Regions from separate parts of the Homo sapiens genome. Here region 1 is linked to region 2. Evidence: promoter capture Hi-C in 16 types of primary human blood cells and fetal thymus (Javierre and others, 2016). All regions are on one chromosome and are shown on one strand. Each heading gives the region's core, a stretch centred on a gene start or on the middle of the fragment in contact. The rest is flanking DNA. Distances are from core to core; before and after follow the strand shown.

The links. The method cuts DNA at HindIII sites, captures the fragments that hold promoters and counts their contacts. A CHiCAGO score of 5 or more calls a contact.
Region 1: a contact is called between a fragment that was not itself captured here and the fragment with the promoter of CAPN12 in region 2, in 1 of 17 cell types (non-activated CD4 T cells). The highest score is 6.4, in non-activated CD4 T cells.

Annotation. Positions count from the first base shown.
Region 1 is chr19:38,449,057-38,454,997 of GRCh38, forward strand. RYR1 (ryanodine receptor 1) reads left to right here. Exons shown (of 106, transcript NM_000540.3): 12 at 2,708-2,829; 13 at 3,763-3,958. Among named protein-coding and RNA genes, the nearest start is that of RYR1, 18 kb to the left of the region's middle. RefSeq lists an enhancer at 3,731-4,258. The HindIII fragment of the contact is 175 bases long and covers 1,643-1,817 here.
Region 2 is chr19:38,743,138-38,748,605 of GRCh38, forward strand. CAPN12 (calpain 12) reads right to left here and starts at 1,337. Exons shown (of 21, transcript NM_144691.4): 1 at 792-1,337. The coding sequence starts at 1,028. The HindIII fragment of the contact is 36,048 bases long and covers 1-3,738 here.

The DNA.
Region 1 (5,941 bases), core at 480-2,979, 290 kb before region 2:
GGATATATCTACATGGAGAGAGAGAGAGAGCAGAAATCTGTAGACAGACAGGGAAAGGCAGAGATAAAGAGGCATGGAAACAGAGAAATAGAGAAAGATAGAGACAGAGAAACAGAGACACGGCCGGGCGTGGTGGCTCATGCCTGTAATCCTAGCACTTTGGGAGGCCCAGGCGGTTGGATCACCTGAGGTCAGGAGTTTGAGACCAGCCTGGCCAACATGGTGAAACCCTGTCTCTACTAAAAATACAAAAATTAGCCAGGCGTGGTGGCAGCTGCCTGTAATCCCAGCTACTCAGGAGGCTGAGGCAGGAGAATTGCTTGAACCTGGGAAGTGGAGGTTGGGAGTGAGCCAATATCGTGCCATTGCACTCCAGCCTGGCTGACAAGAGTGAAACTCCGTCTCAGAAAAACAAAAACAAAACAAAACAAAAACAAAAACAGAGAGAGTGAGAAAAAGATGGATAATGACCAACTGAGAATAACTTTCAACAAACAATTACTGAGTACCCGCGTTGTTCTGGTTGTGTGTGCAGAAAATAGATGAGCTGTAGCGACCTGTTCCCTGCCCTCCCAGTGCTCAGAAATTGTGAACAAACTGCCTTTAGTGAAGTACATAGTTTTACAATTAAGGAGTGGGAAAACTATTTTTGGCAGCAGGAACAGCATGTGCAAAGGTCCTGAGGTTAACATGAGCTTGGCTTGTTGCAGTAGCAGAAAGAAGCCACAGTGTGGAACAGGGTGAGCAGGCTGGAGTAGTGGTTGGTGAGGAAAGAGAGGGGATGGGAACAGCTCGTGTGAGGCCTTGTGGGCCATGGGAGAGGTCTAGTTTTGTTTGTTTGTTTGTTTTTTGTAGAGACGAGGTCTCATTATATTACACAGGCTGGTCTCAAACTCCTGGGGCTCAAGTGATCCTCCTGCCTCAGCCTCCCAAAGTGCTGAGATTAAAGTGAAGTGTGAGCCACTGCTCCTGGCCAGGTTCTAGTTTTTATCCTGAGTGAGATGGGCTCACAGGAGATTTTGAGCAGGGCAGGGAAGTGACCTGACGCAGGATCACAGAATTCTTAGGCTGTCTCTGGGAACAGACTACGGTCAGGGGACAGAGCCAGAGCAGGGAGACCAGAGAAGAGACTGCCATGATGTTACAAATGGGAGATGACAGTGGACAGGACCAGGAGGGGACTGTGGAGTTGGGAAGAGTAGTAGATTCTGGTGGGGTCCTGAGGGTAGAGCCAACAGGATTTGCTGACAGATTGGCTGTGGGGTGAGAGAAGGGGAGGGGTTGAGGATGATGCCATGATTTTTTGCCCCAAGCAACTGGAAGGATGGAAGTGCTGAAACAGCCTCATTGTCTGGAGTATCACCCAAGGTTTGTGGTCTCACAGCCACAGAGAACAAGGACGCAGACACACAAAGAGTGAGGTTAAGAGGGGACATTTAATAGGCGAAAGAAGGAGCTCTCTACTGCAGAGAAGGGTCCCAGAAAAATGGGTTGAAATGCAGGGGGTTCCATGGTGAAATGCAGGGGGCTTTACAGATGAGCTGGTGGGGAGGTGGTATCTGATTTACCTAGGGTGCAAAAGACTGGTTGGACCAGTTGTGCCATTTGCATAGGGCACAAATTTCTGGCTGCCTCCACCCTAAGCTTTTATTGTACAAGCGGGTCCTCTGCCTGAGCTGGCCATGTTGCCCATTCCTTTTCTGTACAACGTGGAAACAATAAATAAATAAATAACTAAATAAAGGGAAGATGGAGCCTCCATGTTGGACATGCGTAGCCCCAGGTATACCTTTTCTATCGGCACATTCCCCCATGCAAGCTTGTAGCTCGATTTTCCAGGCTGCTCTTTGTTAGAAAAGAAATTATTTTGGGGGCTGCTTTCCGTTAGAAAGGAAACTCTGCCGAGGACTCTGTTGCCCTTACTCTCTGCCTAAATAATTTTTTTCTACCTCTTGTATCAGTGCCATCAACCAAGTTAGGGGACAGTCAGTGTTGGCTCAGAAGGACAGGGATCTTAGGCTTTACTGCCAGTGCCTAGAACAGAGCCACTTACTACAGCCTTGCTGAATGGACAAGTAGGAATCCTTGGGGAGGCACTCGTTTGCAAAAACAGGCCTGTAGTTGAATACATGAGCCAAGGGCGTAGAGACGGGGCCTGGGCCATGTCCAAAGTGGGGACACGTGAGCATCATCAGCAGGTGGATGGTGTTTACAGCCGCAGACTGGATGAGTTCTGGGGAGGTCGGCTTGGGGTGAAGCTGGCAGCCATGATGGTCTCACCTCGTGGAAAGGTGGTCTGGCATTCTATCTGGGACAGGTTCAATTTGGGGGTTAGAGCTTTCTGGTCGGGGGGAATGTTAAGTCAGCAGTAGGTACAGGTGGAAAGGGTCTGGCCTGGAGACAGAGACAGGAAGGAGATAGGGATAGAGAGATAGAGAGGGAGAGGCAGGGACAGAGGTGAGAGAGATAGAGAGACAAAGACAGACAAAACCAAAAACAGGGACAGAGAGAGACAGAGAGGAGAGAGAGAATCAAAGACACAGAGGAGACAGATGACGGGGGACAGAAAAATGAGGAGGAATTTGCAGTGAGATTCTGCAGAGCAGGGAGGAGGGGGCAAGTGCAGAACTCAAGTCTAGACAGACGTCTTGGGGGCATGGCCCTGGGTGGCTGGGCCCACTCCAGACCTCTGTCTCCCCACTCCTAGGCCATGCTGCACCAGGAGGGCCACATGGACGACGCACTGTCGCTGACCCGCTGCCAGCAGGAGGAGTCCCAGGCCGCCCGCATGATCCACAGCACCAATGGCCTATACAACCAGTTCATCAAGTGAGCAACCTGCCCTCCCTGCTGGGGTGACTCCTGTGCTGTCCCATGCTCCGGGCATCCATACACTTGGCCTCTTTCATCTCTACCTCTGTTGCCCACACCCTTGTCTAACATATACATGGGCCAAGCGCAGTGGCTCACACCTGTAATCCCAAGACTTTGGGAGGGCAAGGCATGAGGATCGCTTGGGCCCAGGAGCTTGAGACCAGCCTGGGCAGCATAGGGAGACCCCGCCTCTACCAAAAAAAAAAAAAAAAAAAAAAAAATTAGGCTGGGCACAGTGGCTCATGCCTGTAATCCTAGCACTTTGAGAGGCTGAGGCGGGCAGATCGCTTGAGCCCAGGAGTTCGAGACCAGCCTGAGCAATATAGTGAAACCCTGTCTCTATAAAAAAAATAACAAAATATTGGCCAGGTGTGGTGGCACGTGCCTGTAGTCCCAGCTGCATGGGAAGCTGAGGAAGGAGGATTGCTTGAGCCGAGGGGGCAGAGGCTGCAGTGAGCCACTATACTCCAGCTTCACTGACAGAGCGAGACCCTTCTCAAAAAATAATAACAATAATATACACATGACCCCTAACCTCTAAACTCCTGACCTCTGTACACTTGACCCCTAATCTGACCTTGACAACCATGATCACATTCCTGATCATCACCCAACTTTCACACCCCTGACACCCAGAGCCTGGACCCTGGACCTCTCCATCCCTGAGTTCCGGGACCCCCCTGTACCTACACAGGAGCGAGTCCCAGTCCCAGCTCTGCCCTTGGCCATTGTGTGACCTCGGACAAATGCTTTTCCCTCTCTGCGTCTCGGTCTCCCTCTCTGTAAAACGGGTGGGTCTGGGGGAGTCTTGCGGGAGTGAGGTTGCGGCAGTGACGTTGCGGCAGTTAGCGCTCCCAGCCGTGGCTGACAGCTGCGAGGTCCCTGTAGGAGCCTGGACAGCTTCAGCGGGAAGCCACGGGGCTCGGGGCCACCCGCTGGCACGGCGCTGCCCATCGAGGGCGTTATCCTGAGCCTGCAGGACCTCATCATCTACTTCGAGCCTCCCTCCGAGGACTTGCAGCACGAGGAGAAGCAGAGCAAGCTGCGAAGCCTGCGCAACCGCCAGAGCCTCTTCCAGGAGGAGGTGAGGACGTGGCGAGGGCGGAGCGGGGCCTGTGGGCCCAGGGGGCGGGACCACTGAGGGGCGGGGCCACGGCGCTGGGCGGGGCAGGGCCTGAGGGACCTGGGGAAGTAGGGTCTGAGAAGGGGGCGGGGCAGGAGAAGGAGCCGGACAGGAACCCCAGCCAGTGAGAACACGATGGGGCGGGGCCTTGGGAGGGGCGGGCCTGCTGTGCTGGTGGGCAGGACCTTTGGGAAGGGGCAGGGCGTATGGCCGACCAGGGGGCGGGGCCTGGAGAGAAGGATGGAATAAAAGAGCTGAGGGGCGGGGCCTATGTGAAGCTCAGGTATAGGGTGAGGCCTGGGGAGGTGAGGCCAGGAGTGGGGCCAGAGGTCAGAGGTAGGGCTGCCGACTCAGCGGGCGGGGTCTGCTGGCGCGGGGTCTGTGGGGTGGGCGGACAGAATCAGTGTGGGGTATGGGAGGTGCCGAGGCAGAAATAGATCTTTGGGCATTAGGGAGGGGAGGCCAGCTGTGAACAAAACAGAAAAAAATCTCTGTCCTTATGGAGTTGACATGGCGGGGAGAGACAGGAGATCAATAAAATAAATAAGTAAATTGTATGGCATATTAGATGGTAATAACTGTTAAAGAGAAAAATTCAGCAGGTAAGGGGTAGGGAGTGTTGGGGTTTTGCAGTTTAAGACAGAGCTGTCAGACAGGGTGACCTGGAGGAAGAGAGGAAGCCATGTGCAAAGGCCATGAGGTGGGCGGGTGTTTGGCATGTTCCAGAAACAGTCAGGTGGTGATTGGAGCAGGGAGGCTTGGGTGGGGGAGTGGGAGGAAATGAGGGCAGAGAGGTGACGAGGGCCAGGCCTTGGTGAGGACTTTGGCTTTGGGAGCCACAGGAGGTTTTGGTCCTCTACAGTCACAGCTAGTTAGTGGCAGAGCCGGTCAGTGTGATGCCACTTTGGTTGTGCTCTCCACTTTGAGGCACTGCTCCTCTCACTACTGATCTAGGCCCCAGGATGCAGATACAACAATTGTTTTGTTTTGTCTTGTTTTTTGAAACAGAGTCTCTCTCTGTCACCCAGGCTGGAGTGCAGTGGTGTGATCTTGGCTCACTGCAACCTCCACCTCCCAGGTTCAAATGATTCTCCTGCCTCCTCAGCCTCCCAAGTAGCTGAAACTACAGGTGTGAGCCACCACGCCTGGCTAATTTTTGTATTTTTAGTAGAGATGGGGTTTCGCCATGTTGGCCAGGCTCGTCTCAAACTCCTGACCTCAGGTGATCCACCCGCCTCCACCTCCCAAAGAGCTGGGATTACAGGCGTGAGCCACTGCACCCAGACAGTTTTGTCCTTTTTGTTGATTTCACTGTTTATAATGTCTCCCAAGTGTAGTGCTGAAGTGCTGTCTAGCTTTCCTAAGTGCAAGAAAGCTATGATGTGCCTTACTGAGAAAATATGTGTTAGATAAGCTTAATTAAGGCATGAGTTATAGTACTGTTGGCTGTGAATTTAATGTTAATGACTCAACAATATATATTAAATAACTGTCTTTAAACAGAAACATAAAAAACAAGGTTATGTAATAAGTGGTTGATGAAAATACTGTCACAGACTCTCAGGGACTCCCTGTATTTCCCCTAGAAGCAGTGGTTCAGTATTTGATAATTCAGTCTTCATAATCACTTTATAGAACATAACTATGAATAATGAGAATTGATTGTATATGTTTTATGTACTTTTCTGTATGTATATTATGATTCACAATGAAATAAGAAAAAATATTAAAATGTAAAAAAAAAAAGAAAAGAAAAGATAAAGTGAGAAAAATCTTTCTGATGGTTGGTGTGGAGAATGAACTGGGCCTCTCCAGTTGGTGGGAGTGGGGTTCCAGTTGGATGGTTGGTGGGAGTGGGGTTCCTGGAAGTGAGTAGGATGGAGAGAAAAGTGCAGGAAGGGGAAGTATAAACTCAGTCCTGGTGTTAATAAGGACTGAATTATC
Region 2 (5,468 bases), core at 87-2,586:
GAAAGCGAGGAAAGGTCTCATCCAGAGGAGTGAGGGCCTCCAAGCCCATGAAAGGCCTGGAAGCCTGTGGGCAGGAGCATGGCTTCCCTGGGTCTCCAGAAGTTGTGCTGAGCCAGTCCCATGGTAGCCCCCTCCTCCCTCAGACCCGGGAGTCCAGGCCCAGCCCCTCCTCCCTCAGACCCAGGAGTCCATGTCCCGAGCCCCTCCTCCCTCAGACCCAGGAGTCCAGGCCCAGCCCCTCCTCCCTCAGACCCAGGAGTCCAGGTCCCGAGCCCCTCCTCCCTCAGACCCAGGAGTCCAGGCCCAGCCCCTCCTCCCTCAGACCCAGGAGTCCAGGTCCCGAGCCCCTCCTCCCTCAGACCCAAGAATCCAGGTCCCCAGCCCCTCCTCCCTCAGACCCAGGAGTCCAGGTCCAGCCCCTCCTCCCTCAGACCCCGGAGTCCAGGTCCCCAGCCCCCTCTTCCCTCAGACCCAGGTGTCCAGGCCTTGGCCTCTCCTCCCTCAGATCCAGAAGTCCAGGTCCAAGCCCCCTCCTCCCTCAGACCCAGGAGTCCAGGTCCCCAGCCCCTCCTCCCTCAGACCCAAGAGTCCAGGCCCAGCCCTTCCTCCCTCAGACCCAGGAGTCCAGGCCCAGCCCCTCCTCCCTCAGACCTAAGAGTCCAGGTCTCGAGCCCCTCCTCCCTCAGACCAGGGAGTCCAGGCCCCCAGCCTTCCTTCCTCAGACCCAGGAGTCCATGCCTCCAGCCCCTCCTCCCTCAGACCCCAGAGCCCAGACCCCAGCCACACTTTACATGGGGCCTCATCCATTTCACGCCTTTGGCCTTCTCCGAGTCCGGCCCCAGCTGGTCATAGCCAAGGGCATCAGGGCCAGCAGGGAAGTAAGGGTCGCGGAACAGGATCCCCGAATCCAGGCAGGCTGCCCGAATTGCCTCATAGCTCTGGCCCCGAAAAAGCTGCAGGCGCCCGGCTCCGACCCCAGCCTCCTCATCCACGAGCTGGATGGTGACCCTCCCACTGCTGGATGCCATCTGGACACTGGCCTCACAAGCCGGCACCAGGCCCTTTAACCTCCTGAGTCACGGGGGCGGGGCCTCTCTTCCATTGGAGCCCCAGTGGGGTCTTTAGGCAATGAGGAGCCTTCCCTCGTTAATATTAATTGATGGTTTGGGGTGCTGGGGAGCAGGGACGCCTCTTCAGTAGCTTTCTTCCCAGGGCGTGGGGCCTTCAGTTGTGGCCAAGGTAGCAGCTTAATGGGCTTGGCCAGCAGCAGGAGAGAAGGCGGGCAGAGCTGAGGGAGGACCGGCTGCCGCTGTCAGAGCACCAAGAAGGAGGTCAGTGTGGGGGTGAGCTTCTGCCTACTTATGCCTGTGGGGCTGGGGAAGGAGGCGGGTTTACCTCGGTGTCTCTATCTCTCAGACTGCCTCTCTCCCCCTCCCTCTGACAGTTTCTCTCTCCCCGCCTTCATGTTTCTTCTCCATCAGTTTCTGGAGTGCAGTGGCACGATCTCAGCTCACTGCAACCTCCGCCTTCTAGGTTCAAGTGATTCTCCTGCCTCAGCCTCCCAAGTAGCTGGGATTACAGGCTCGTGTCACCATGCCCAGCTAATTTTTGTATTTTTTGTTAGAGAAGGGATTTTACCATGTTGACCAGGCTGGTCTTGAACTCCTGGCCTCAAGCAATCCGCCCACCTTGGCCTCCCAAAGTGCTGGGATTACAGACGTGAGCCACTGTGCCTGGTCAGGTTTTGTTAATTAAAAAAAATTTTTTTTAAAGTAGAGACAGAGGGGTGGCGGGGGGCGGTCCCATATGTTCCCCAGGCTGGTCTTGAACTGCTGGCCTCAAGTGATCCTCCTGCTTCAGCAGCCTCCCAGAGAGCTGGGATTACAGATGTGAGCTACTGTGCCTGGCCCTTTCTTGTTTTTTGTTTCTGGCAATATTTGTGTCTCTGTATTTCCCCAACTCCACCCCTCTCCCCACCCCACCCTCTTTTTTTTTTTTTTTTTTTTTTTGTAGAGATGGGGCGGGGATCTCACTTTGTTGCCCAGACTGGTCTCGAACTCCTGGGCTCAAGTGATCCTCCCCGCTTGGCCTCCCAAAGTGTTGGGATTACAGGCGTGAATCACTATGCCTGTCCCCTCTCTCTTTGTGTCTCTTTCAGCGTGTGTCTGTTCCTCTCTGTACCTGTCAGACCCAGGAGTCCAGGCCCCCAGCCCCTCCTCCTTCAGACCCTGTCAGTGTACCTTGTGTCTGCCTCCCTGTCTCTTCCTCTCCATCTTTCTGTCTGTCCCTGTAACCCATATGTGGCTCCTCCATCATCCACCGAGGGACCCTGAGCTCCCCTCCGCTCACGCCCCCTAAGCCCTCAGGATGCGCCTCCTCCCCTCCCGGACAAGGTAGACTCAGCCTGCTTGCCCAGGGAGGCTGACCCTGGAGGGATGGCTCTGTACCTCTCCTGTGCTGGGAGCCATCTGGTGACCATGATGCCCTGCCCTGGCCCACGCCACTCAGAGTCTGGATGGAGCAGTATTTCCCCCAAAGGACTCTGGAGCCATTGGAGGAAATGGGAGAAACAGGTACGGAGATGCCAGAGCCTCAGCAGTGCTGGTCCCAGCAGACCTTCCACCCTCGTTGAGGGTGTCTGCTGCCCTCCCAGAGCCTTGTCACCTCCACGCCACTCAGATGTCCCTCAAGCCTTTTGGCCTTCTTCCCTCCAAGTGGACCCACAAATATTGTCCAAGCCACCCACGTACACGGCTACCAAAAGTGGGTTACAAAACAGGCTTTCTGGCTGGGCGTGGTGGCTCATGCCTGTAATCCCAGCACTTTGGGAGGCCGAGGCAGGCAGATCACCTGAGGTCAGGAGTTCGAGACCAGCCAGGCCAATGTAGTGAAACTCCGTCTCTACTAAAATACAAAAATTAGCCGGACATAGTTGCGGGCACCTGTAATCCCAGCTACTCAGAAGGCTGAGGCAGGAGAACCGCTTGAATCTGGGAGGCGGAGGTTGCAGTGAGCCGAGATTGTGCCACTGCACTCCAGCCTGGGCAACAGGGCAAGACTGCATCTCAAAAAACCCCCCAAAACAGGGCCGGGCATGGTGGCTCATGCCCGTAATCCCAGCACTTTGGGAGGCTGAGGTGGGCAGAACACTTGAGGCCAGGAGTTCAAGACCAGCCTGGCCAACATGGTGAAACACCATCTCTATTAAAAATACAAAAATTAGGCTGGACGCGGTAGTTTACTACGCCTGTAATCCCAGCACTTTGGGAGGCCGAGACGGGCGGGTCAGGAGTTCCAGACCAGCCTGGCCAACATGGTGAAACCCCATCTCTACTAAAAAATACAAAAAAATTAGCTGGGTGTGGTGGCACGCACCTGTAATCCCAGCTACTCAGGAGGCTGAGGTAGGAGAATCGCTTGAACCCGAGAGGTGGAGGTTTCAGTGAGCCAAGACTGCACCACTGCACTCCAGCCTCGGCAAGAGAGCAAAACTCCATCTCAAAAAAAAAAAAAAAAAGGCCGGGCACGGTGGCTCAAGCCTGTAATCCCAGCAGCACTTTGGGAGGCCAAAGCAGGCAGATCACGAGGTCAGGAGATCAAGACCATCCTGGCTAACACGGTGAAACCCCATCTCTACTACAAAAAATACAAAAAATTAGCCAGGCATGGTGGCGGCCACCTGTAGTCCCAGCTACTCGGGAGGCTGAGGCAGGAGAATGACGTGGACCCAGGAGGCGAAGCTTGCAGTGAGCCGCCACTGCACTCCAGCCTGGTTGACAGAGCAAGACTCTGTCTCAAAAAAAAAAAAAAAAAAAAAAATTAGCTGGGCATGGTGGTACACACCTGTAATCCCAGCTACTCAGGAGGGTGAGGCAGGAGAATCGCTTGAACCTGGGAGGCGGAGGTTGCAGTGAGCCAAGATCACGCCACTGCACTCCAGCCTGGGTGAGAGAGTGAGACTCCATCTCAAAAAAAAAAAAAAAAAAGTTTTCTTCGTGTAGGATTGCCAAGCCCACCCCAGCCCCACGGGAGTCATATGGGAGTGCTTCCAGCCTGCCGGGATTAGGAGCCACAGCACCTGGGGTCCAATCCCAGCTCTGCCACCTACACCTGTGTGTCTTTGGGCACATCACTTAACTTCTCTGTGCTTCAGTTTCCTCATCTCTGCAATGCGGATGATGATAGGGCGTACCTCGGAGGGTTGCTGTGGGAAGCGAATGAGTTCGTACGTGGGATGAGTTCAGAGAAGTGCCTGACACAGAGTCGCTGCTCACTGCACGAGGCATTGACCATGCCTTGGCGTTCAAGAGTGTCTGCTGCCCTCCCAGAGCCTTGTCACCTCCATGCCACTCAGATGTCCCTCAAGCCTTCTGGCCTCCTTCCCTCCAAGTGGACCCACAGATATTGTCCAAGCTGCCTACGTACATGGCTACCAAAAGTGGGTTACAAAACGAGCTTTCTGGCTGGGCGTGGTGGGTCACGCCTGTAATCCCAGCACTTTGGGAGGCCGAGGTGGGCGGCCTCGGCCATCCACAGTCAACCTGTCTCCTTGGATCTGGGCTGCTGTTTCTTTCACTTGTTTGTTGGTTTATTTTTTGGGACAGTCTCGCCTCGTCACCCAGGCTGGAGTGCAGTGGCGTGATCTTGGCTCACTACAACCTCCGCCTCCCAGGTTCAAGTGATTCTCCTGCCTCAGCCTCCCGAGTAGCTAGAATTACAGGCATGTGCCACCACGGCTGGCTAATTTTTGTATTTTTAGTAGAGACAGGGTTTCACCATATTGGTCAGGCTGGTCTTGAAAGCCTCACTTCAGGTGATCCACCCGCCTTGGCCTCCAAAAGTGCTGGGATTACAGACAGGAGCCACCGCGCCATGTCTTACTGTTTCTTTTTTTGTATTGTTTTGTTTTGTTTCTGAGACAGGGTCTGACTCTGTTGCCCAGGCTGGAGTGCAGTGGCACAATCTTGGCTCACTGCAGCCTTGACCTCCCGGGCTCAAGCAATCCTCCTGCCTCAGCTTCCTGAGTAGCTGGGACCACAGGCTTGTGCCACCATACCCAGCAAATTTTTAGACTTTTTGGTGGAATGGAGTCTCACTTTGTTGCCAGGGCTGGTCTTGAATCCCTGAGCTCAAGCAAACTTCCCATGTCAGCTTCCCAAAGTGCTAGGATTATAGGCCTGACCCACTGCACCTGGCCAGATGTACAACTTTCAAACCACTGAAGTAGCTTAAAATGAAAGGAAAAGAAAATGTAATCTATTTGGCAATGGTCGAAAAGCAAAGGAAAATGCAGCGAATCATAGAAAATAAAAGCAAAAAGCATCACACAATGACCTAAATAAAACCAAGCATATCAGTTATAACAACATTATGCAAATGTGTGAAACGTACTTGGGAACATCAACAAACAAAATTCAACTGTTTAGCTTTCAAAACACTTTCCAAAGATAACACCACCAAGTTTTAAA